6 separate regions of the Homo sapiens genome follow, and all the other regions are linked to region 4. The links are contacts of gene promoters, found by promoter capture Hi-C in blood cells and fetal thymus (Javierre and others, 2016). All regions are on one chromosome and are shown on one strand. Each heading gives the region's core, a stretch centred on a gene start or on the middle of the fragment in contact. The rest is flanking DNA. Distances are from core to core; before and after follow the strand shown. Region 1 overlaps TSGA10 (testis specific 10). Region 2 overlaps TSGA10 (testis specific 10). Region 3 overlaps MITD1 (microtubule interacting and trafficking domain containing 1). Region 4 holds the start of MGAT4A (alpha-1,3-mannosyl-glycoprotein 4-beta-N-acetylglucosaminyltransferase A). Region 5 overlaps INPP4A (inositol polyphosphate-4-phosphatase type I A). Region 6 overlaps INPP4A (inositol polyphosphate-4-phosphatase type I A).

Region 1 (4,311 bases), core at 1,292-3,791, 330 kb before region 4:
TTAAAAAATTACCAAAATTACAACTAATTTTTTAGAATGAATTCACCAAACCATAATAAAATATTTTTTTAAATAGCCTAATAATGATTACTCGGTCTATTATATTGTTTGTGGAGCTGAATTTTTTTCCCTCCTTATTTCCCTACTAGAAATCAGACCCTACTTCAGTTACTCTGCTCATGATAGAATTTTGAAAGTTCAAAAAATCTGGTTCTTATTGTATGCTCAATTTATACATGAATGCATATTTACAACTAGTGTTTATTGGCATAGGTTTGATAGTTTACTTCTGAGCAATTTCAGGAAAGTTACTAGACTGGCAGGGAAAGTTACTAGACTAGCAGGTAAAAGATAATCATAGAACAGTTCATGATCAAGATAATTAAGGCTGGGGCTATGAATAAAAGGCAGACACCAGACAGGAAATTATCAGAAGCTGACATTTAAAATATGCAAGTACTCAGAAGCTCTGTAGCCAGCACAGCCCGGTAAATTGGTCAAGAACAAGGGAATACACCAGTACGAAAGGTCAGAGGCTCAGAATCCAGACCAGCAAGTAGTCAGTAAGCAGACATATGGGAAAAGCAGGCTGTGGAGGACTTCAAACAAAAGGAAATATAAGAACAAATTCATTCAGGTCTTGAAGAAAAGAGTAATTTACCTAAATTTACTATTTACTAGTGTTCACTGAGTGTTACTCAGGAGCCAGGGCAGATGCTGATTGCAGTCTTTGTTAATTACAGGATGACCTGTTTTCTAAACTAAGAGTATAGATATATTTCCTCAGGGTTCTATTATAAACGCTTCTCATGGCAAGTGAATTCCCAATGACTTGGATAATAATGTTTAATTTTTATCATATGTTCAGCATTTTAAAGTAATAGCTAAAGTTTGCTTTTCAGGAATCTGAGAACCGGCAAATGATGGAACAACTTCGAAAAGCCAATGAAGATGCTGAAAACTGGGAAAATAAAGCCCGTCAATCAGAGGCAGATAACAATACCCTCAAACTGGAACTTATCACTGCTGAGGCAGAGGGTAACAGATTAAAAGAAAAAGTAGATTCCCTCAACAGAGAGGTTGAGCAAGTAAGTTTGGAAAAATATGCTTATAATACATCCTGCATCATATTTAAAAGAGTTTTGTTTGGCCTTCCATAAATTAAATGTATGAACAAACACGTAAATTATTTAAATGTACTGTGAATTGTAGCATGCTAACCATTCTCCTTATACTTTGATTCTTCTACAATCTCTTATCTACCCTACATCCAGAACAATCATTAGCATTTGTTAAAATTAGAAACTATTTCAAACATACCATAAAAGTGCAAAAGTAACAAAACAGATAAACATATCCCCAGCTCCCACATGTAAGGATACTAACATTTTGCCATGTTTGCTTCAAATGTCTCCTTGTTTAAAGAAATAAAACATTACAGATAAAACTTCTCTCATCCTTTTCCCTCCTACCTCCCTAGTTGCTGGTGTGCATAACTTTCCTGTCAGTGTGTCTAACTCCTTTGCATATGTTTATACTTTTTCTACAATCTTACACCCACAAATAATGTATAATGTTATTTGGTATGTTTTGGTTTTTATTTAAGTGAAAACAAACATAGTTGGAGATATTCATTTGCAACTTGCCCTCTTTGCTCAATATTATAATTTTGACACATCTATTTTGATATATATATAGTGTACTGCTTTACTCAAACAGTTGCATATATTCATTGTATAAATATTCCCTTTTTAAAATTCATTCCCATATTGAAGGAAAGTTAATTTTTTTTCACTTTTTTCTGTGATAAAACACTGCAACAAACCTTTTACATTTCTCCTTGACTACATGTTTCCCTATATTTATGCCTGGAAGTGAATTTTAAAAAGCTATATGCCTGGAGTAGATCCAAGATATGTGCAATTTCAGCTCTTCTAAGTTTTTGTCAAATTGCTCTCTAAAGTGTCATTCTGCCATAAGAAATCCTGAGTTATTTTCTCAAATGTGAATCAATACTTGATATTGTCAGACAATTTTTTCCATACTTTTTGTCTTGTGCTTCCTTGATTGCAAGTGAAATTGAGGACCTTTTCATGTTTCTTTGCCATTTAGGATTCTTCCTCTATGAACATTTTCTTGAATTTCTCTTGAATGAAATTTTTGTAAACTTTGGCCATTTTTCTATTGCATAGCTTATCTTTTTCATATATATATATTTTTTTGAGATGGAGTCTCGCTCTGTCGCCAGGCTGGAGTGCAGTGGCGTGATCTTGGCTCACTGCAACCTCCGCTTTCCAGATTCAAGTGATTCTCCTGCCTCAACCTCCCAAGTAGCTGGGACTACAGGTGCGCACCACCCTGGCCAACTAGTTTTTTTTTTGTATTTAGTAGAGATGGGGTTTCACCATGTTGGCCAGGCTGTTCTCGATCTCTTGACCTCATGATCCACCCACCTTGCCCTCCCAAAGTGCTGGGATCACAGGCCTGAGCCACCACACCCTGCCTTCATATTGATTTTTAACGGAATTCTCTATGTATTCTTGATAATAATCCTCTTAAAGATATTACAATTATATTGTCCTTGTCTGTGGCTTGTCTTTTCACCTTCCTTGCAGTATAAACAGACATGTTCAGTTCTGATATACTCAGAATTATTATCAATATTTTCCTATATAGTTTATACTTTTATGTCTTCTTTAAGAAATCCTATACAATCCCAAGGCCAGAGAGATATTTTCCTATATTTTCATTTAAAAGTTCTTCTAAATGTTTGAAAGTATGTGAAATTTTGCCATTTACATTTAGGACTTTAACCTGCTTGAGATTGATTTTGTGCAGTTCGAAGTAGACATATAATTTTTATTTTTGTGAATAGATATCCGTTGTCCTTTCTTCTCTGAAATATAAGTCAAGTCTACTTTGTCATAAAAATAAGTTCCCATACATTCTGCTCCATTGGTCAATTTATCCCCTTGTCAATAACACACTCTTGTAGCTATTATAATTTTATGTTGAGTCTTGATATCTGGAAGAATTAATGTTCCCTCAAATTATCTGGACTGTACTTGGTCCTTATTAACCTGTCTCAGATGAATTTTAGAATAAATGTATCAGATTTCATGATTTTATTTCTTTTCTATGCATTGAAGACTGGAAATTTCTATTTTTTTGGGTGCAGCCACCTGCAGCCCACAAGTTTTGAGATAATCCTTTCATTGCCATTCAGTTTTTAATATCATCTCGTTTCATTATGATTTATTTTTAATTACTAAAGTTTGTTTGTCTGTTTGTTTGAGACAGAGTCTCACTCTGTTCCTAGGCTGGAGTGCAGTGGTACAATCATAGCTCACCGCAGCCTCCAATTCCTGGGCACAGGTGATCCATCTGTCTCAGCCTCCAAGTGGCTAACACTACAAGTGTGAGTCACCACACCCAGCTAATTTTTAATATTTTTGTAGCAATGGAGTCTTACTATATTGCCCAAGCTGGTCTTGATCTCCTGGCCTCAAGTGATCCTCCCACCTCAACCTCCCAAAGTGCTAGGATTAGAGGCATGAGCCACCACACTTGACCTGAAGTTTTAAAAAACTTTCCAATGTGCAGGGGACTTGAGGTTATTAGTCTATTTTTACTTTGTTGTGTCTAATATCTTATTGTCTAATGTTTCTAATATTGTGATCAGATAAAATGGCTTATGATAATTAATTCTTTGTTATCTGCTAAGAATTGCTTAGTGGCAGATTATGTAATCAATATTTGATAATATTCTACATGACCTTGAAAAGCATCTGTGCTCACTTCTTGGTGGACACATATATGTATGTTATATATATTTACAGATTAGGCTTGTTAATAGTGTCAGTCAAGTCTTATAAATCCTTACTATATTTGTATTCTTGATCTCTCAAATACTGAAAGACATGTTAAAATCTTCCTCTGTAACTGTGGATTTGTTTATTTCCCTCTGAATGATTTTCTCACAGTTCTGGAGACTGGAAATCTAAGATCACAGTGCCGGAAGGTTTGGTTTCTTCTGGGGCTTCTCTCCTTGGTCTGCAAATGTCTGCCTTCTTGCTACATTCTCACATGGCCTTTCTTCTGTGCATGCACATCCTTGGTGTCTCTCCCTATTCTTATAAGGACACCAGTCATGTTGGATTAGGATCCTATCCTTATAACCCCATTTAACCTTAATTACCTCTTTAAAGGTCCTATCTCCAAATATAGTCACACTAGGGGGTTAGGGTTCAACGTATGAATTTGGAGGGGACACAGTTTTGTCCATAACAGGTTGTTTCTAGTTTTTGGCCG
Region 2 (4,327 bases), core at 1,728-4,227, 410 kb before region 4:
GTATCTTCTATGAAACAAATAGCTTCTACCTAAAAATGTCAATGTTATGAAAGACACAGAGAGGCTGAGGAACTGTTTCAGATTAAAGGAGGCTAAAGATACATTATTTCAGATGCAACCAATGCTCTTGAATTGGGAAGGGGATGGAATGTACTACAAAGATCATTACTTAGATAACTGAAACATTTGGATATGGGACAATATTAGATAATAATATTGGATCAATGTGATAAATGCCATGAATATGATAATTGTATTGTGGTTATATAAGTCAATGTCCTTGTTCTTAGGAAATACATACTGAAATAGTTAGGGGTGAAGAATTGTATCTGCAACTTGCCCTCAAATTGTTTAGCAATAGATAGATAGATACATAGATACAGAAAGACAGTAAAATATGCAAAATGCTAACAACTGTTAAATCTAGGAGGTAAAGCTTAAAAAGTTGTTCTACATATTATTATTATTACATTTCTGTAGGTTTAAAACTTTTTCAAAATACAAAATTGAAAAAACGTTTTAAAAAACACAAAACTCTAAAACATGGCATTTGAAATCAACAAACGTAAAAGAATGGTAACATATAATTATCAATTTGCACATTAAACTTCAATCTAATAAAAGGACTGAGGAGGAACCAAGTATAATAGGGTAGACTTGGCCCTGTGAGTCTTACCTTAACTTCCCCAGAGTTGAGGACATGAAGGGTGAACAAGTCTATTGGGGGCCTCTTTGGACTGGCATTTAGGTTGCCATTCAAGAAGAAATCTGGAATATATATGTAAGAATAAAGGTACATAAAGAGATAAATCAATCTGGAGAAAAAGAACAAAGTGGCTTTCTTTACTAGATATTAAGATAGGCTACGCGGCTGGGCACAATGGCTCACGCCTGTAATTCCAGCACTTTGGGAGGCCAAGGTGGAAAGATCTCTTGAGTCCAGCAGTTTGAGACCAGCCTGGGCAACATAGGGAGACCTCATCCCTATCAGAAAAAAATTAAAAAAAACAAAAAGATATGCCACAAAGTGAAAGTAATAAAAATAACCTTGTACAGGTACAGGAACAAATAATCAGTAGAATATGACAGAGCTGTAACTTGGACTTAGGTATTTCAGGAACTTCACATATATCACAGGTGGCACTATAAGACAAAGGAGATAGAACAGACTAAGTTTAGTATGATGGTATCGTGAACATTGGCTAACTATGTGGACATAAGCAGGATCTTAAACACAGAAGTAGGCTGGGCGCGGTGGCTCACGCCTGTAATCCTAGCCCTTTGGGAGGCTGAGGTGGGCGGATCACGAGGTCAGGAGTTCGAGACCAGCCTGATCAACATGGTGAAACTCTGTCTCTACTAAAAATACAAAAATTAGCCAGGTGTGGTGGCGGGTGCCTGTAATTCCAGCTACTCAGGAGGCTGAGGCAGGAGAATCGCTTGAACCCAGGGGGTGGAGGTTGCAGTGAGCTGAGATCATACCATTGCACTCCAGCCTGGGCGACAGAGCAAGACTCCGTCTCAAAAAGAAAAAAAAGTGGAGTGCAAATGCATTAAAGACCTAAATGTGAATGGCAGAACTGTAAATGCAATAGAAGAAAATATCTGTTACCTTGGAGTGAAGAAAGATTTCTTGAACAAGACTAAAAAGCTTAAACAATAAGGGAGGAAAACAGTGAGTTTGATTACTCATAATTGAGAATTTCTATTCAATGAAAAAAATATAAACAAAAAGATAGATAAGAGACTGGAAGGAGATATTTTCTGTGTCCAAAGCTGATGGTATTTAATGGCTGGAATAAAAAGAGAACACCTAGAAATTAGCAAGGAAAAAGAAAACCCAATAGAAAAATGGGCAAAGGATATAAAAACATAATTCACAGATTGAGGAATCCCAAACAGATAATTAACTAGGAATCAGAGAAATTCAAGTTGCAAAGAAATTGCAACCTCCGCCTTTCTGGGTTCACATGATTCTCCTGCTGAGGCCTCCCGAGTAGCTGGGATTACAGGCACCTGCCACCATGCCCGGCTAATTTTTGTATTTTTAGTAGAGACGATGTTTCGCCATGTTGGCCAGGCTGGTCTCGAATTCCTGACCTCAAGTGATCTGCCCTCCTTGGCCTCCTAAAGTGCTTGGATTACAGCATGAGCCACCGTACCTGGCCACATCTGGCTAATTTTTAAAATTCATTTTTTTTGTAGAGACAGGGTGTCACTGTGTTGCCCAGGCTGGTCTCGAATGCCTGTACTCAAGCAATCCTCCCACTTCCCAAAGTGCTGGGATTACTGGCGTAAGCCACCATGCCTGGACTGGTTTGAACCTTTTATAACAAAACCCAGATCACAGCAGTCCTCTGCTCAACACACTCTAGTTGCTTCCCATATCAGAGAAAAAAATTATCTACATATCTGGTCCCCAGCTGTGGTAGGCAGAATAATAGTCTTCAAAGATGTCTTTGTCCTAATCCCCAGAAGCTGGGACTATGTTATGTTATGTGGCAAGGGGGAATTAAGGTTGCTAATCAGCTGACTCTGAGGGTGGGAAAATTCTCCTGGATTAATTGGGTGGTACTAATGTAATCACAAGGGTCTTTTTTTTTTTTCTTTTTGGGACAGAGTCTCACTCTGTTGCCCAGGTTGGAGTGCAGTGGTGTGATCTAGGGTGACTGCAGCCTCCGCCTCCTGGGTTCAAGTGATTCTCGTGCCTCAGCTCCCAAGTAGCTGGGATTACAGGTGCCTGCCACCACGATCAGTTAATTTTTGTATTTTTGGGGAGAGACAGGGTTTTGCCATGTTGAACAGGCTGGTCTTGAACTCCTGACCTCAAGTGATCCACCTGCCTTGGCCTCCCAAAATGCTGGGATTATAGGTGTGAGTCACCGCACCTGCCACACAAGAGTCTTTAGAAGTGAAAGAGGGAGGTAGAATGTGTTAGCCATGATGCAATGTGAGGAGGACTTGACTGGCCATTTTTGGCGTTGAATATAGACTGGGATCACAAGCCAAGGAACATGGGCTGCCAGTAGAAGCTGGAAAGGCAAGAAAGGGGATTTTCCCCTAGAGCCTCCAGAAGGAATGTAGACCTGCCTGACATCTTGATTTTAGCCCAGTGAGACCCAATTTGAACTTGTAAATCTCCAGAACCGTGTGATAATAAATTTGTGTTGCTTAAAGACACCAAGTGTGTGGTAAATTGTTGCACAGCCGTAGCAAACAACTCTACTAGCAAGCACTCTCTCCTGTCTCTTTGCCTTATTCGACCCCAGACCTATCACCCCATTGCTGTTCCTCAAGCATATTCTATGCCAAACCTTCTCCTGCTTCAGGACCTTTGCACTTACAGTTCCCCCAGCCTGAAGCAATTTTTGCATTGCAAACCACATCCCTTGAGGATAGTTAGTGACATGGGGCCTGGAACTGTGAAGAATGGCAGACTTCTGCTGCTAGTCATGATGGAGTAACAGAGACCAGACTTATCCTCATGCTTTCAGCATCTTTTTTTTTTTTTTTTTTTTTTGAGACAGAGTTTTGTTCTTGTCCCCCAGGCTGGAGGGCGATGGCACGATCTCGGCTTACCGCAACCTCTGCCTCCCGGGTTCAAGCAAGTCTCCTGCCTCAGCCTCCCGAGTAGCTGGATTACAGGCATGAGCCACCGTGCCCCGCCTGCTTTCAGCATCAAAACACAAAACACATGAAGCAATGGCTTTTAGATATTGGACAACAGGCAGTTCGGGAGAGTGATCCTTGAGAAACAGGAAATAAAGTGAGCCCTATGAATGGACATTGCCTGGAACTTTCAGGCCTCGGCATAAGGAGGAAACTCTCTGATTTAAAAAACGGAACACAGGCCGGGCGCGGTGGCTCATGCCTGTAATCCCAGCACTTTGGGAGGCCGAGGCGGGCAGGTCATGAGGTCAGGAGATCGAGATCATCCTGGCTAACACAGTGAAACCCCGTCTCTACTAAAAATACAAAAAAATTAGCCGGGCGTGGTGGTGGGCGCCTGTAGTCCCAGCTGCTCGGGAGGCTGAGGCAGGAGAATGGCGTGAAGCCGCGAGGCAGAGCTTCCAGTGAGCGGAGATCGCGCCACTGCACTCCAGCCTGGGAGACAAAGCGAGACTCCATCTCAAAAAAACAAACAAAAAAAAGGAACACAGCATCAGTGAGCTGTGGAACAAGATCAAGTGGCTTAACACATATGGAATTGGAGTCCCAGATTTTTTTTTGAGGGGATCAGGAAGAGGACAGTGAAAACAAAACAAAAAATAGTAATAACAGAGGTTTTTGTAGTGAAGCTTTTGAAATGATGGAAAAATTAAGGGAC
Region 3 (4,481 bases), core at 1,250-3,749, 440 kb before region 4:
TCAACATCATGTACCCACTGAGCAAGGCACATCACTTCTGTGATTTTCTTGCCAAAAATGCATAAACCAAGTCTAATGATGAGAAAACATCAGACTGTCCAAAATGAGAGACATTCTGCAAAAATAACTGACCAATATTATTCCTAAATGTCAAGGACATAGAAGGCAGAGAAAGATTAAGGAACTAACACAGATTGGAGGAGACTAAGGACACATAACTAAATGCAATATGGGATCCTGGACCAGAAAGCAAACTTTCATTAGTGGGAAAATTGGTGAAATTCAAATAAGGTTTGTAGATAAGTTCATAGTATTGTTTCAGTGTTAATTTCCTAGCTCTGATACTTGTAGTATGGTTTGTGATATGTTAACATTAAGAGAATCTAGGTGAAGGAGGTTATCTGTACCATTTTTGCAACTTTTCTGTAAATATAAAAAATTAACTCAAAATGTTTTTTAAAATGAGAGATTAAAATGAAATTATTGGCTGGGCAGTGTGGCTCACGCCTGTAATCCCAGCACTTTGGGAGGCCGAGGTGGGCGGATCACCTGAGATCAGGAGTCGGAGACCAGCCTAACCAATATGGTGAAACGCCGTCTCTACTAAAAATACAAAAATGGGCCGGGCACGGTGGCTCACGCCTGTAATCCCAGCACTTTGGGAGGCCGAGGCAGGAGGATCACTTGAGGTCAGGAGTTCGAGACCAGCCTGACCAACATGGTGAAACCCAGTCTCTACTAAAAATACAAAAACTAGCCAGGCATAGTGGTGGGCGCCTGTAGTCCCAGCTACTCAGGAGTCTAAGACAGGAGAATTGCTTGAACCCGGGAGGTGGAGGTTGCAGAGAGCCGAGATCATGCCACTGCACTCCAGCCTGGGCGACAGAGCGAGATTCCGTCTCAAAACAAACAAACAAAAAATGAGATTATTTATGGAAAATATAAGCGATGTTGAAAGGAAAAAAGGGAAGGAACAAGAAGTGATTTGTTGACTGATTTGGGAGGAGGGGTGGTTGGGTAAAACTTTATGATCATGTATATTCAAAAATAACATTTTTGTGGTAGCTGGAAAAATGTGCATTAACTATAATGGGGAGGTCTGGAAGAGTAGCTGGTTTTGTGGAAGATAAATATTTTTTGCTACTTTTAATTATGCAAAAATTTCAAACTTGTGGGTAGTTAGGATAAAATAGTGCTCAGACATGAGTTTGACATGTAATGAGCCACCTTTCATCCCACCAGATTTGATGTCCCAGAGATGAGACATAGTGTCAAGAGCTCCCACTCCTAAACCAAGCTGCATCACGCTTCGTGTAAATATGAAGGTCTTGTATGTTCAAGCCAAATTTGAGTTTATTGTGTGTGTTTGAGGACTGAGGCAAGCCATACTAGAGGATAGGAAATTTGTAGAAAACTTGAGAAACTGAAAATAATGCCCAAATTAAATAGAAAAACTATTTTGATACTTGATAATATATATTTTTAAATTTGTAGGTACCAAAGATAATACTAAGAGATGTAATCTCAGAGAAAAAATTTCCAAATACATGGACAGAGCGGAAAACATAAAGAAGTACTTGGACCAAGAAAAAGAAGGTAAAGAGGTTGTTTTAGAAAATGCATCCATAAACAACTGTGACTGTCCATTCACCCAATGTTTCTGGCTCCTGCCCTTTGGAGCTCTGTGTGGTCTGGACCAGTTGTCCCTGGGAGCTTACAGGATTTAATCTGTATTTCCACTCCCATACAGGAGTTGTTCTTAATTTTTTGTTTGTTTGTTTGTTTTGGCTTTTGTTTTTAGTTGGGGGTGGGAATATCAGACACCCCTTTGAACATCTCATGAAAGCTATACTTACTGGAGAATGTTCCATGCCATTTTTAAGGGGTTCACAAATCCCTATGAAGCTTATGTGTGGACCCTATGTTAAGAAATACTACAGGGAATACTGAATGTAAATTGTGTATTTTATTTATATTTCCCTTTATGAAATGACCAAAATCATGAAAGAAGCTAAAGAAACTCCTGGGATTTCTCTCAGATTTTGTTGTGAATCAAAACACCTCAGGAGTTAAGCATTCCTAATGATTAGAGGTCAGGTAGGTATTGTTCCCTATTATTAGTTCCCTACTCCTAAGCATCCAGTTTACAAATGTCTGTAAATGGCCATTTCCACCCTTACCTGAGTGCATACTTGCTGCTTTCTATAGCCAAAGGTACTGCTGCCCTCAAAAGCCAGTGCCCCCAGGCCCCAGCTTTTCTTCCTCTCTATACTTTCTACACCCCTTTCCCCATCTCTTCCTACTATCCTGTATCAGTACATACCCTGGGGACCCCCCACTGAGCTCCTTTGTTCAGTGGGAATAAAGTTATGTTTCCTTAGCCCCGATTTGAAATTTAGAATGAAATTTTACTCCAAAACATTGATGAAATATAGTACCTCCAGCATTGTGGTTTTGAGTACATGGAATTAAATTAACCTCTATACGGCTATCTTGGCTTAAAAAATAAGGCATAGTTGCCAATGTTATCTATGTGGAAATATTTGGAACAGAATCCAAACTACTGATTTTTAAACAAAGTGTAAAGTATAATTTAGGGGCTACCATTAGGGTTTTTTTTTTTTTTTTTAGACGGAGTCTCGCTGTGTCGCCCAGGCTGGAGTGCAGTGGCGCGATCTCTGCTTACTGCAACCTCTGCCTGCTGGGTTCAAGCAATTCTTCTGTCCCAGCCTCCCGAGTAGCTGGGACTACAGGCACCCGCCGCCAAGCCTGGCTCATTTTTGTATTTTTAGTAGAGTTGAGGTTTTGCCATATTGGTCAGGCTGGTCTCTAACTCCTGACCTCAGGTGATCCTCCCGCCTCAGCCTCCCAAAGTGCTGGGATTACAAGTGTGAGCCACCATGCCCAGCCAGGGGTCATATTTTTTTAAAACCTTAAAGGTTTCTGATAACTTTTTCAATATTCATTTTGAATGAACAAAAGCAATAGATCTATCCTCTTGATCCTGTGACATCCCAGTCTTTAGCTTATTAAGAAGTACTATAAATTTCTGTTTAAAACTGTACACGTGCCAAGAAAGACTTTGAAGCTTCATATTATACTGCATTAATTTTTTTTTTTTTTTTTAAGGCAGAGTCTTGCTCTGTTGCCCAGGCTGGAGTGCGGTGGCATGATCTCAGCTCACTGCAACATCCACCTGGGTTCAAGTGATTCTCCTGCCTCAGCCCCCCAGGTAGTTGGGACTACAGGCACCTGACATCATGCCTGGCTACTTTTTATATTTTTAGTAGAGCTGGGGTTTCACCATGTTGGCCAGGCTGGTCTCGAACTCCTGACCTCAAATGATCTACCTACCTTGGCCTCCCAAAATGCTGGGATTACAGGCGTGAGCTACCGCGCTCTGCCCTGCATTCATGTTTAATACTCACTTTAGTTATTAGATTGCAAGACATAAAAAGACAAGTCTGAAGAGGAGGACCAGATAGCCACTGAGTTTCAGTATGTGGTGCTACCCATGGCGACAGGGAGTTATTGGATACCTTTATATATACACTACTCCCTTCAACAAACTGCCTGGTCTATAGGATCTTGCTCAAGGACCTGTTCCAGGAAACCTCTAGATTTTCCCCCTTGCCTAGCCTCTGTGAAGGCAGAAATCACTAATGGAGTGGTTTGCCTTAAATACCTTTGTACGTGTAACATCCTGCAATGTATATGATATTTAGTAGGCATTCAATAAGTATTTGCTGAATAAGTTAAAAAAATTAATATGTATCTGATGCTGATTAATCACTCTATATAAAATATAAAATGTGTAAAAAAAAAATGGTCACTGGTTTTACTGTTGAAGCCTGTGTTTTATAGATGGAAAATATCACAAGCAAATTAAAATAGAAGAGAATGCAACAGGTTTCAGTTATGAGTCACTTTTTCGCGAATACCTTAATGAGACAGTTACAGAAGTTTGGATAGAAGATCCTTATATTAGACATACTCATCAGGTATGTGAACATACTAAAATATAATGAAATATCATATTCAATGTACTAAATTAGTAATAATCCATTCTAATGTCTTTTAGCTGTATAACTTTCTTCGATTTTGTGAGATGCTTATTAAGAGACCATGTAAAGTAAAAACTATTCACCTTCTCACCTCTCTGGATGAAGTAGGTACCTGAAAGCACTTACTCTTTCTTATTAACTTTATTCAGTTACAAGATGTAGTCCAGTCAAGGAGAACACAGATGCAGTGCTTCAGCTAGATTTGTTTCCTTGGGAATTAACTTATTATCTAACAGTATGCATAACATGTCATAAAAAAAGTTATTGATTTTAGGATGCTGATTTTGTATTTGGCCACTTTGCTAAATGCACTTATTCAAATAGTTTGTTAGTTTAGTCTCTTGGATATTCTAGGAGGCAATCACACTGTCTGCACTATGAACAATTTTGTTTCTTTACCAATTATTATATCTGGGG
Region 4 (4,357 bases), core at 1,737-4,236:
CTCTGCCTCCTGAGTTCAAGCGATTCTCCTGCCTCAGCCTCCCAAGTAGCTGGGATTATAGGCACGCACAACCATGCCCAGCTAATTTTTGTATTTTTAATAGAGACAGGGTTTCACACTGTTGGTCAGACTGGTCTTGAACTCCTGAACCTCAGGTGATCTGCCCGCCTCAGCCTCCCAAAGTGCTGGGATTACAGGAGTGAGCCACCACACCTGGCTTTTTTTTTTCTTTCTTTTGAGAGAGAGAGAGAGAGAGAGAGAGAGAGAGAGAGAGAGAGAGAGACAGGGTCTCACTCTGTCACCCAGGCTGTAGTGCAGTGGCATGATCATATTTCATTGCAGCCTGGAACTCCTGGGCTCAAATGATCCTCATGCCTCAGCCTTCCCAGTAGCTGGGACTACTGATGCATGCACACCAGGCTAATTTTTAATTTTTATTTTTTTAAAGACATGGGTCTCTCTCTGTTTCCCCGGCCGGTCTCGAACTCCTGGGCTCAAGCAATCCTCCTACCTCTGCCTCCCAAAGTGCTGGGATTATGGGCATGAGCCACTGTGCCCAGCTGGGAAATATATGTAAAAATATTCATCCACTCAACAAAATTTTGTAACTTGCTGAAGATGTGAGCAGAGAGATAGTCTGGAGGGGTGATGTAGGGGCTCTGGAATCAAACAGACCTGGATTTGAACTCTGATTCAAACATTTACTAATTGCCTAAATTACTGTTTGTATCTGTCAAATGTCTTAATTTCTCAGGGCCTCAGTTTCTTCGTGAATAAAATAGGGATAATAGCTCCTGTTCCATTTGGTCTTTTGGGTAATTCATGAAAATGGCTTGGGGGCATTCTCCATGATGTTATCAAATGGCAGGACTTTCTTCCTCTGCAAGAAGTAGTTTGCTTGTCTGTCATTAAGAGCACTGTAATAGCAAAGCCTAGAATCATCTATTCCTAGGAGATATTTTAGGCAGGATATATCCAACAATGTATTAAAAGCTTTACCTTGGAATGGTCTCAGTCTTTACCTCTGTTTACATCTGGTCATGAATCAAATTGCCAGCTTGCTACTTGGCAATGGCTTTGTCATAGAATACAGGAAACCTGGCTTTCAGGTCCCCAATGTATTCGTCCGTTTTCATGCTGCTGATAAAGACATACCCAAGACTGGGCAACGGACAAAAGAGGTTCAATGGAGTTACAGTTCCACATGGCAGGGGAGGCCTCACAATCATGGTGGAAGGCAAGGAGGAGCAAGTCACTTCTTACATGGATGGTGGCAGGCAAAGAGAGTTTGTGCAGCAAAACTCCCTTTTTTAAAACCATCAGATTTCGTGAGACTTATTCACTATCACGAGAACAGCATGGGAAAGACCCTCCCCCATGATTCAATTACCTCCCACCAGGTTCCTCCCACCACACAGGAATTGTGGGATTTACAATTCAAGATGATATTTGGGTGGGGACACAGCCAAACCGGAAGTAGAGAGAAAACACACTCAAAGTAGAGGGAAGAGCTGTCATTGGATATCATGGCTGTGATCCCCCAAGTTGTGTCCACAGTGCTGGGCAGTGGACAGATCTTTTGGTATGGTTCCCCTAAACTAGTAAGAGACTATGGGAGCAGGGATGTTACGTGTCTCTTCCTGAAGTTTTAAATTAGCCGTCATGGAGAAACCTCAACATGGGAAGGCTGATAACTCCATGCATGTTCTAGCTGATTATTAATTATTCTTATCTTGAGATAAAAATAATGGAATTTATCGGAGGTGGGGAGGGGACCCTGTTCTGATTGATGCCTCTTAAGAGTTTTCGATTATTGAAATTACTGTTTTCTGAAAAGAATCTACTTATTACTTTGGGAGTTTGGCAGGAACAAGGCTGCCTCCTTGATCTTTGGCCCCTCAATTCCCTTACAGGTTACTCGGTAGGATTGCTGTAAGGATTATTGCGGCAATAAAGTTAACACATCCCTTGTTTTTGAACCATTACCAGCTGTGTGACCTTGGGCAAGCCCTTTCACCTCTCAGCTAGTTTCCTCTTATGAAAAATGGGGAATAAATTTAAAACATGAGATATGCAATAAACGATCTAACACCCATGCCTGCTATACGGTTGCCTGCTATACAGTTAAGTATTCAAAAGAGGACGTACCCAGGGGTAGTTACTGTTAGCACAAGTCCTATGGATACTATGAAAAACAGGGACAGACCACCCAGGCTTTCTACAAACGAGTCAGTTTTTTGCCTTTGAAGTTAACCTCTAACCTTGTGAAACGGCGACAGATAAGGACATGGGGTTCAAGAAAACGGGGCATAGTGGAAAATCAGGGGCATTAGCACCCAACGATGTGCGTTGAAACCCTAGTTGTTTTTCTCCTTCCCAGTTGCTGAAATCAGCCCTTCTGGCCGATTCGCGGGGTTCTCACCGGGAAGTTGGGGCTGTCGCGACCGTCCGCGGGGCCTCGGGAGCTCCTGTGGGGCTGGGCCCGGGACCTGTCCCCGGGGAGGCCGCCCAGTTTGGGCGGCCCGGAGCGGGGCGCGCCGCTGGGAAGGGGCCGGGTCGAGGCAGGCAGGCGCCTGGGAGCTGGGGCAGCCCCGGGTGGTCGGGTCGCGCGCCGAGGCGCAGGCCGAGGGCTCGCCCGGGCCTTTGTTGGCCGCCGGAGCGGTCCCTGCACGCGCCGGGAGGATCTCAGCCAGATGTGGCAGCGGGGCGGCGGGGAGCAGGCCGGCGCCCAGAGCTGGGACCCGAGACCGCGGCTCCGCTCCGGACCTCGCCGTGACACCGATGAGCCGGGCCAGCCTCCCGAACGCTCCGCAGGCTGCGTGGCGGCGCCCCTAAGTGACAGTCGCGCGGGCCACTGGTGGGGCGCGGGGCGCGGGGCGCGGGGCCCGCGGGGCCGGCCAATGGCTGGCGGGGTCGGGGCGGCCCGGCGGGGCGGGGCGGGGCGGGCGCTCCAGCGGCGGGGGCGGAGCCGGCGGGGCGGGCGGGGCGGCCCGCAGCGGCGGCGGCAGCGGCGGCGGCGGCTACAGCAGCTCCGCCGGCAGCCGCGGGAGCACGGCGACGCCAGCGGCGGGTGAGGGGCTCGCGGCGGCAGCGGCGGCGCGCGGGGGCGGGAGGGGGCGCGGGGCGGCTGCGCGGAGGGCGCGGGAGTTGGGGGCGGCGCCGGCGGCCGGGCTGGCGGCCCCGGGCTGCGGGAGATCCACCTGCTGGTAAAGGAGCCTACTGCGCCGCGGCCCGGCCGGAGCTCTGTGCGGGGGAGCTGTTGGCGCCTCTGGGCGCGGGGCCGGCTCCGGGAGCGGCTGGGCCTCGGGGGCGGGCGGCGGGGCGCGGGCCGGGCCGTCCTCCCAGCGTCCCTGCCCCGCACCGCGCACCCCTCGGGGTCGCGCGCCCTCTCTGCGGCCGGCTCGGCGCCTGGTGCGTTCCTGGCGCTCCCCGGCGTGGCGGGGCTCGGCGACTTTGGGGGAAAGTGGAGCAAAGTGCTGATCCGGGGGGTGCGGAGGGGGAGGGACAGCTGCCTGTGGGACCCGGGGGCTGCGCGGGAGTCGGCGCTTTCGCGGGGGCCGCGGGGCAGGTGGGCGGGGCCGGACGGTCCGAGGCGCAGGGGCAGGGGCTGCTCCCGAGGGGACCGGCCGTGCAGCCTTCGCAGGGAATTTTCACACAAAGTGAAGGGCTGCGGGGCCCGCGTGAAAGAGCAGCCCCCGTTTCCCCAGGCCTCAGCTCTCTCCGTAATGAGGAAGCTGCAGTAGGACCCTGAGGCTGGGTCTCGGTGACTCCACCAAGTGTGCCAGGTGACATCTCGGAGGCGAGCTTTTCTGAGCTGGCAGTCGAGCCACTTGCACACCCGCCTTTATTCCTCGCAACAGTGTGTTTCTCTGGAGCGGTTTCATTGCCTACATTCCGCATTGGAAAATAGAAGCAGGCACAATGTATGCTTTGAATGCTTTCCACGTATTTTGCTGTTGTGCTTTTGCTGTTGGACAGATTATTTGATAAAAGATAATGACAGTCGTTCGTTGGAACGTAGACTGTAAATTTAGAATAAAAATATGCGTTTTGTGGTTTATGTTTCTTTTTCTGAATGTTTAAAAAACAGTTTGATGAACAGGTTATCTTGACATAGATTTCTTTAACCCACACGTGTAAACCCGAAAACGCACTGGGCGATGACATTACGTAAGCTGTATTAAAGAAAACTACTGACCCGTTTATAAATGGCAAATAAATGAATTTTGCCACAATTGTGGTGTGTAAAGTTATATAGGCTTACGTCATGGATTTTATTGATTCCAGATATCAGGGATTATTGTGCCTTTCATTCTTAAGTCACCTCTACCCTGTCTGTGGGATGCTGATTAAGGAA
Region 5 (4,124 bases), core at 985-3,484, 280 kb after region 4:
GCATTTTGAAACATGCTGTGTGGACCCTTCTCTAGCATGTTTCCTCCTCAGGTGCCCTTCCTTCCGCAATAATTAGTGCTAATGTGGTTAGAGCTCAGTGCAAGACTACTCCTAAACGTTATTTTTATGTATTAAGATGAATCTTTAAAGCTGAAAACCCAGAAATATCTCAACTCTTTAGTTTCAGGAAAAATTCGGAAAAGTGGGTCATTGTGATCTCACAAATTACACCGTGGAGGTGGCTATTTATTTCACCCAAACATCAAGTTGGAGTTGTACTTGCAAAAAAGGGGACATAACACAGGTAAAAATCACCACTGAAAGTAGTCACTTGGGCTGTCTCCAGGCCAATTCCCTAAATATTTCTCAAGCACCTACTAACTGCACTGCTCTTTTTTCCTAGCTGAGCAAGGAGTAGCAGCGTAGGCAACCCCTACACAAATGAACACACTTCAGGAATGGCTTCAGAAGGTGAGTCATAACAGCTCTTTGGGACTCTTCAGCACCAGCCAGGTAGACTCCATCCCTGCTAGGCCAGAGAGGGACCTGGAGCTGGAGTGTTACTGAGGTTGCTTCCTTTAGCACCGAGCTGTACAGGGAGAGTACAGGCCATGCTTGGAGGAGCTGGAGAAGCTTGAGGCAAGGGGGCTGAGAAACTTATATGGGTGGACAAGCTGGCGAATGGGGGGCAGGGGAAGGACTCCGGAGAGCAAAGCGGCCCCCAGGGCCGTAAACACTGGCTAGTTCACACTGTGGGCTGGCCACCCACCATCCTCTCTTCCTTCTTGCTATTCTAGGACCTAACCTCCTCCCCGGTCCTCAGGAAAAGTCAGCCCTGTCTCCAGCTGGGGAGTAGGGGAGTCTTGATTAAACTAAAAGAGCTGTTCTCCAATGTGACCTTGCATCAGAATCACCTGGAAGTCTTCTTAAAGCACAGCTTTCTGGGCCCCATCCCAGAGTTTCTGATTCAGTGGGTGGGGTAGGATCCACTAATCTCCAGTTCTAACAAGTTCTCAGGTAATGCTGATGCTACTGGTCTGAGGACCACACCTGGAGGACCACCAGCCTAAGCCAACCAGCACACAGCACTCTCACAGCCTCATGTTGCTGGTCCAGGGAAGGCCACGTGACCCTTTGCTCCACAGGCCAGAGGGAAGGACTGGTAGACACTGTGGCTGGGGAATCAGCTGCTTTGTCTCCTTCCCTGCTCCTGCTGGACAGGAACAAGGAAGCACGCAGTCCCACTGCCCCCAACGACCATCTCAGAATCATGAGGAGACTAACCCCCTAGGATGAAACCGGCAGTGATGGCTGGACAGAGGAGCAGAATCGAGGTCCTTGATGAAACTGCTGACATGCTGATGGAGACTCCAGTTCTCTGAGATAATAAATGTCACTGTTGGCAACCAAAAGCATCCCAACTGACACACCCCATAATCCAGGGAGAAGCTTGAACTGGGCATCCTTGTTTCCTAGTAGAGCCCTGTTTCCCAGAAACAACCATCTGCCTAAATACTTCCTTCACATTTCCAGAGTTTATACACTTAGGTCATCCTTCTTGAAAATTCAAATTAATTGGTTTGAGAATACACCCTTTAGAGATGCAAGCAACATGAGAGAGGGAAAGAAGGGCGTTCAATATGCTAGGGTGAATTAATAATAGACAGCTTCCATAACAGCAGCTGACACCACCTGCGTGAGGGCTATGGGAGGGGCAGGAAAGGGGCAGGGGGTTTTCAGGAGACATCAGAATACCACCTAGTGAGGTGCAAAAAGAGGGGCGCTGCAGCAACCGGAGGTCAGGAAAACTACCAGGTGTCTCAGGGAAAGCGCTCTAGGAGGATCCCAGGACCGGAGCTGGCAGCGGGTAAACACTTTCCTCTTTCAGAGGTCCCCACCCTTCTTCCTGGACATCAGAGGACATCCCTGTCTTCCTGACCCTATTCCAGAAAATAGACCTCACCAGAGCATGATCCCCCCACTGCCCCCACCATATACATCTGCTTACTGTGCCTAAGTCCCTCGCCAGGTGAGCCTCACTGAACAAGTTTCATATTAAAAGGCCAGCAGTCTCACCCATGCTCCAGGTTAGGGCTGTGGGCAAACACCAGAGGCCAGCTGGGCTGGCTGGCTGGCAGGCCTGGGCCTGACAGCCTGATAGGGCATGACAAAGGTATGTGCAAAGACCAGAAAGAGACATGCACACTGCACCCAGGACCCTGGCTTTCCAATCCCAGACAGGCTATGGTGAAAGGGACAGCTAAGGCCGGGTGCAGTGGCTCATGCCTGTAATCCCAGCACTTTGGGGGGCAGAGGTGGGTGGATCACCTGAGGTGAGGAGTTCAAGAACAGCCTGGCCAACATGGTGAAACCCCGTCTCTACTAAAAATACAAAATTAGCCAGGCATGGTGGTATATGCCTGTAATCTCAGCTACTAGGGAGGGTGAGGCAGGAGTACTGCTTGAACCCAGGGGGCGGAGGTTGCAGTGAGCCGAGGTTGCAGGCTAGAGCCACTGCACTCTAGCCTAGGCGACAGAGTGAGACTCCATCTCAAAAAAAACAGAAAGAGACAACTAAGAGATTAAATCCACAGAGGAAAGGCTGATCTAATTCCAAGCTCTGCCAACCACCCACACTCTGTATACGAATCCATTGTAATGCTTCCGTTCTGCACACTTACTAGGCACCAGGATTAAATGTTAATTCATTTAATCCCCCAACAAGCCTCTGGGGCTGCTACTACCAGCAGCCCAGTTTTGTGGATGAAATAACTGAGGCACAGAAAGATTAAGCCACTTGCCCAAAGTCACACAGCTAGCTGGATGCTCACAGAAAGTGCAGCACCAGAGTCCACAATAGTTCTAGGGATAAAATAAATGGTTTCGAAAGATGTGTATGCTCAGCAAAAAGGACTGTGTAAAAGAAATTCCTGATTTATAAACCAAAATACTGAAAACAGAAATTGTTGATACTGGCAAATCCAGGTAATCAATTTTTATCCCTCATTGAAAAGCTTTCATTTTTCAATCCTGTGAAGGAAGTTAGGTGATATAACTGGGTTTTAGTCCCAGTTGAGCCTCTTTTAACTACCCTCGGGGGATGCTCTAACCACTCCTCAACACCACAGCTCACCTTTGGACAGAACCTCCCACAGGATGTCCAGGGAGGCCTGGCATGCAGGGGGTACTCAGAAAAGCTTGGGTTCCTTGTCATTTAGGACTTTAAAAAAAAATTAAAAAAGCATCACACTTAAAAAAACATTCTAAAGCTGCCAAGAATAAAATTCAAAGTTACCGTAACTTCCACAATCTAGTAAGATAAGGAAAAACAGCCCAACAAGAAAAAATGAACAAAGGATATAAACAGGTAATTCATTAGAAGTTAAAATATACATTAACAAGAAAAGGTATCCAATATTTTTGGTAATTTGGGAAATGCAATTAAAACAATAATGTCTTCCTTGCCCATTAGATTGGCAAAATTAACAAGATTTATTCTCTTAAATGTTGGCCAAGTTAAAGGGAAACAGACAGTTTCAAAGCCTAATGGAAGGAGTACAAATTTAAAAAGCAAGCCACAGAAAATTTTGTGTAATGTGACTACATTTATGTTTACAATGAGAGCATCTATCCCCTGAGAAGGTCTAGAATGGGTGACACCTCAGTAGCAACGAGAATACATAGTGCCTACATCTCGGTTTTTATACCACTCTCCACTAAAGGAAACCAGGACTCTTTGGAGAAATGGCTGATTCCAGGGCTGGGACAAGGAAAGTATAAGCTGAGTCCTTGAAGATTTTGTGCCTGGAAGAAAAGTCCTCAAAGAATGATGAGCACTTGTCAAAAGGACACAAAAGCCAGACTGAAGGGACTCCCACTGGCCAAATCTAGGATAATTTGAGCAACAAAATGCATAATGGGAGTAATGGACTATAATCTATTGAATAAAGCAAGAATTCATGAGTCCAGTGATGTAAATCAAAAAGTAAATAATAGAGAAAGGAAGGTTTCTTCCTTTCAGTACAGTTCCAACTAATAAATATAGAAGGAACCATGAAAATCATCATCTGCCTACTATCATAATAATTGACTCAGGTAAGAAACATCAATGAATTCTGAAACTA
Region 6 (4,219 bases), core at 1,164-3,663, 260 kb after region 4:
TGGCGGCTAGGGGGCTGCGGCAAACTTACTAACAGGGCCAGCAACGTCTTGGGAGGCTTCGACATTTATAGATTATTAAATGAAGAATTTTAAAAGCTTACAGACAGCCAGTCTAAGCACTTCAAATCTACACAGTCTACTTGGCAAACACACACTGAGCGTTGACCTTGGTTCCTGAGCGCTCAACCTGAGGCTGCAGCCTGTGAGAAGCAGCAGCATGGCAGACTTCTGTTCAAAAGCAACCTTACTTCCATCCACCAGAGCTTAAAATTCTCAGATGGTCTAACAGAAATATTCCACATATGATGAGATACCACAGAAACCTTAAGTGTAAGTTAAAAAACCATACTCCCACCTGCTATATATTTTAATTCCACATTCTCTCCTGATAGCTTTGCGAGATTGCCAAGTACAAAGGGAAAAAAGCTTTTCAAAGCTCAATTTTTTAACCCAACAGGGTCATTCATCCTTTTCTCCTGTGTGGAATGACTGTGAAGTAACTCAACAGTGTTTCTCACAGGACTCAGGTCAGGACATCATTCACAACGGCCATCTACAGTGAAGCCACAGACACACACATGCATGCACGCACAGGCACACCACATACACGCACACTCATATACACAGGAGGCACCTCCAACACCCTCAGCTAAAACTATTTTAGTGTGATCTCAAATCAAAAGCTTGGGCCAAACCATTCTGGTTTCTGAAACTACAGGTCAACAAGGTTGCAACAAACATAAAACCACACTGAAACCTATTCAGAGAAGGATGGTGATGGTTTCTTTAGAAATGTCTTCCAGTGGCTGGGTGCGGTGGCTCACGCATGTAATCCCAGTACTTTGGGAGGCCAAGGTGGGTGGATCACCAGGTCAGGAGTTCGAGATCAGCCTGGCTAACATGGTGAAACCCCGTCTCTACTAAAAATACAAAAATTAGCCGGGCGTGGTGGTGCGTGCCTGTAGTCCCAGCTGCTCGGGAGGCTGAGGCAGGAGAACAGCTTAAACCCGGGAGGCGGAGCTTGCAGTGAGCCGAGGTCGCGCCACTGCACTCCAGCCTGGGCAACAGAGCAAGACTCCGTCTCAAAAAACAAAAAAAAAAAGAAAAAAAGAAATGTCTTCCAGCTCCTCCTGCAACATGGCCCTGAACCACGTCTAACCAGAGGTCACACCAAGGAAGTGACCACCCAACTCAGCACCACTTCTTCCTGTGGTCCTGGTATCATGCTTCCCCTTCCTGCTCCTTCAGTGCCTGGCTGAGAAGGCGAAAGGCCCCACCAGGCCTCCTTGCAGGGGCCGAAGCCCAGCGGGCCATGCCTCCCTGCGGAGGGAAGGGACAGACCACTAAGGAGCAAGGACTTAGAGCTCAGAAGCAGCGCCAAGTGAGTCTCATGCCCCTCCTGAGGCAGGAGTCCAATCAGGGGAACCCCAGGTGGGGCTGCACGTGCACTGGGTCAGCCTCCAGGGGCCAGGTCTCCCCACCTGCACCACTGGGTCCAGAGCTCTTTAAAATCCAGGGGCCGCTCCCCAGTCTAGGACCACAGGGAAACACTCTGAGTGCCAAGCACTCCCAATGGCTCACTGGAGCTCTGTGGTCATGAATTTACAGACTCATCAACATGTCATGTGTTCTTCTCCAGCCACAGGCCACTGTGCTGAGAAGTGGCCAGAACCAGGGCTGTGGTTTTACCAAGTGAGATGTGGACGGACAGGGGCAGGAGGTCACGTGCGTTGGCCCTTTCACATCAGTCATGACTATGCCTCTATGACTGTGGAACCCTCCTTGGTGCACAGCAGAACATGCTGCAGCTCTGCACATCACAGTTCACCTTCACAGCCTGAGAGAAGGAGGGGACTGAGGCTCGGCATCTAAGAGACTGGCTCAACACCAATATGTGGGGATTTGAAACAGGTGGGCCTATTTCATCAGGAGGCCAAGTTCTTTTTGTTGTTGTTGTTGTTGTTTGAGACGGAATTTCTTTCTTGCTGCCCAGGCTGGAGTGCAATGGCGTGATCTCAGCTCACCACAACCTCCACCTCCCAGGTTCAAGGGATTCTCCTGCCTCAGCCTCCCAAGTAGCTGGGATTACAGGGATGCGCCCCAACGCCCGGCTAATTTTTTGTATTTTTAGTAGAGACAGGGTTTCTCCATGTTGGTCAGGCTAGCCTCGAACTCCTGACCTCAGGTGATCTGCCTGCCTTGGCCTCTCAAAGTGCTGACATTACAGGCATGAGCCACCGCACCCGGCCCAAGTTCTTTTTTTTTTTTTTGAGACGGAGTCTTGCTCTGTTGCCCAGGCTGGAGTGCAATGGCGCGATCTCGGCTCACTGCAACCTCCGCCTCCCAGGTTCAAGCCATTCCTTGCCTCAGCCTCCCGAGAAGCTGGGATTACAGGCGCATGCCAGCCACCACACCCGACTAATTTTTGTATTTTTAGTAGAGATGGGGTTTCACCATCTTGGCCAGGCTGGTCTTGAACTCCTGACCTCGTGATCTACCCACCTCGGCCTCCCAAAGTGCCGGGATTACAGGCGTGAGCCACCGTGCCCAGCCAGGAGGCTGGGTTCTAAACCTCTAAGGCCCACTGCTCTCCACCCCAGCTGTACCTCCAAATCACCTCATGGGAAAGGTGGCAAATGTCATGCTGGCCCCACCCAGGATTACACTAATTAGCACAGCATGGGTGGAGGGCAGGCTGCCATGTTTTTCAAAAGCCCCTAGGTGATGGTAAGGTACAGCCAGGATGGGGAAAATTGCAACACTATTCCAGTTCCCCTTACCCCCAGCCCCCAAAACCCCTTTTCCCAGCTGTTCACTTTATCCTGCCATGGTTGACTCATCTCTGCTCTGCTCAAAGCCATCTCAGCAACCACTGTGGGAGGCATTCACCACGCCTCCTAGGCTGGAAGTACCAGTGTGGGCGTGATGTAGAGACTTTGGGTCTCTCTGGCTCTCAATCTCAGCCATGAGCTTTGCATCTAGTTACAGCTAAACTCATGGTCCAGCAATGAACCATGAGGAGTTATCGACTTCTATCATCATCCTTCACAAACTGCAGTCTCACTGGTTTCAGGATCAACAGAACCATCAAAAAGAAATGCCACAGTTCTTAGAATGAGAAATGCGACCCACCAGCCACACACTAAACAGCATTTATTTTGGTTTGGATTTCATTCCCCTTCCTTCCTTTATTACCCTCCCCTAGTGGCACCTTATAAATTTTCTGTTTTCAGCCATACATGGTGGCTCATACCTGAAATCCTAGCGCTTTGGGAGGTCAAGGTGAGAGGATCATTTGAGGCCAGGGGTTCAAGACCACCCTGGGTAACAAAGCAAGACCCCCATCCCTACAAAAAAATAAAAAATAAAATTTAGGCATGGTAAGGCATTTCTGTACTCCCAACTACTCAGAACCCTGAGGTGGGAGGATCACTTAAGTCCAGGAGTTCAAGGCTGCAATGAGCTATGATTACATGGCTGTACTCCAGACTAGACAACAGAGCAAGACCCTGTCTCAATCAATCAATCAATCAATAAAATTGTTTTCTTTACTGAGACATTAAAATTGGTATATCTAAGGATCTCACTTTCTTACTGTAAAACCTCAAAGTTTTACTATTAGTCCACTAAGATTTACTCAGGGTTATTACAAATTCAATTAGTTCATGGTCTCACTGAGTTGGAAAGTATGCTAAGCACTATCATTCATAAATAATTGTAAAACTTAGTTGTGGAACTCGACAAAGATGAGGCTGAACTTACGGCCTGTTCAACCAACAGGCTGTACTCTAAAAGCCCATTTATAAGTTATCTGGAACCCAGAGAACATTTCATTTCATGTAAAATTACCACTAAGTTGGTACTTAAGTTCCCAAGAAATAAATAACTATTAGACAGTTAATAACTAATAGATAACTATTAAATAGAGAACTAGATAATAATTAGATAATAGATAATTATCTATAACTAATAGATAACTATTCAACTCATTTGTCCTTTTCTAATTTAAAATCAGAAAAACGTTATTATGGTGCAAGAAAATCAAGTGTGTGTTGTGTGTGCATATACAGACAAGAAAATCAAATGCAAGTGTATGTGTGGGATGTATATGCAAAAACTCTAACTTAAGGAAAAGAAGCTTCACATCAAGAACACAGAAGTTAAATCCATGGAGGCTGAGAAGATAATTTCCACTCAGTTCCAAGGGCAAAGGACACTG

Evidence for each region. Contacts are between HindIII fragments. The CHiCAGO score rates a contact against its expected background, and 5 or more counts as called.
Region 1: a contact is called between a fragment that was not itself captured here and the fragment with the promoter of MGAT4A in region 4, in 3 of 17 cell types (M2 macrophages, M0 macrophages and M1 macrophages). The highest score is 9.0, in M2 macrophages.
Region 2: a contact is called between a fragment that was not itself captured here and the fragment with the promoter of MGAT4A in region 4, in 3 of 17 cell types (naive CD4 T cells, activated CD4 T cells and total CD4 T cells). The highest score is 6.5, in naive CD4 T cells.
Region 3: a fragment that was not itself captured here is called in contact with the fragment with the promoter of MGAT4A in region 4 in 3 of 17 cell types (activated CD4 T cells, total CD4 T cells and naive CD4 T cells); the score reaches 7.1 in activated CD4 T cells.
Region 5: a fragment that was not itself captured here is called in contact with the fragment with the promoter of MGAT4A in region 4 in 5 of 17 cell types (non-activated CD4 T cells, activated CD4 T cells, total CD8 T cells and 2 more); the score reaches 9.1 in non-activated CD4 T cells.
Region 6: a fragment that was not itself captured here is called in contact with the fragment with the promoter of MGAT4A in region 4 in 4 of 17 cell types (non-activated CD4 T cells, total CD8 T cells, activated CD4 T cells and 1 more); the score reaches 9.0 in non-activated CD4 T cells.

Annotation. Positions count from the first base shown.
Region 1 is chr2:99,061,716-99,066,026 of GRCh38, reverse strand. It overlaps TSGA10 (testis specific 10), which reads left to right. Exons shown (of 21, transcript NM_025244.4): 16 at 903-1,088. Among named protein-coding and RNA genes, the nearest start is that of C2orf15, 78 kb to the left of the region's middle. The HindIII fragment of the contact is 7,108 bases long and covers 1-4,311 here.
Region 2 is chr2:99,143,843-99,148,169 of GRCh38, reverse strand. All of the region lies in intron 1 of TSGA10 (testis specific 10), which reads left to right. It overlaps C2orf15 (chromosome 2 open reading frame 15), which reads right to left. Exons shown (of 4, transcript NM_144706.4): 3 at 677-768. Among named protein-coding and RNA genes, the nearest start is that of C2orf15, 4.3 kb to the right of the region's middle. The HindIII fragment of the contact is 2,647 bases long and covers 1,654-4,300 here.
Region 3 is chr2:99,171,030-99,175,510 of GRCh38, reverse strand. MITD1 (microtubule interacting and trafficking domain containing 1) reads left to right here. Exons shown (of 7, transcript NM_138798.3): 2 at 1,495-1,596; 3 at 3,865-4,001; 4 at 4,082-4,168. Among named protein-coding and RNA genes, the nearest start is that of MITD1, 7.8 kb to the left of the region's middle. The HindIII fragment of the contact is 1,183 bases long and covers 1,908-3,090 here.
Region 4 is chr2:98,729,761-98,734,117 of GRCh38, reverse strand. It overlaps MGAT4A (alpha-1,3-mannosyl-glycoprotein 4-beta-N-acetylglucosaminyltransferase A), which reads left to right and starts at 2,986. Exons shown (of 16, transcript NM_012214.3): 1 at 2,986-3,070. LOC107985922 (a long non-coding RNA gene) reads right to left here and starts at 2,837. Exons shown (of 2, transcript XR_007087150.1): 1 at 2,423-2,837. RefSeq lists silencers at 2,038-2,332, 2,439-2,628, 2,649-2,978. The HindIII fragment of the contact is 4,047 bases long and covers 996-4,357 here.
Region 5 is chr2:98,449,211-98,453,334 of GRCh38, reverse strand. All of the region lies in intron 1 of INPP4A (inositol polyphosphate-4-phosphatase type I A), which reads right to left. Among named protein-coding and RNA genes, the nearest start is that of INPP4A, 6.4 kb to the right of the region's middle. The HindIII fragment of the contact is 1,565 bases long and covers 1,452-3,016 here.
Region 6 is chr2:98,467,551-98,471,769 of GRCh38, reverse strand. All of the region lies in intron 1 of INPP4A (inositol polyphosphate-4-phosphatase type I A), which reads right to left. Among named protein-coding and RNA genes, the nearest start is that of INPP4A, 25 kb to the right of the region's middle. RefSeq lists a silencer at 2,851-2,980. The HindIII fragment of the contact is 3,455 bases long and covers 686-4,140 here.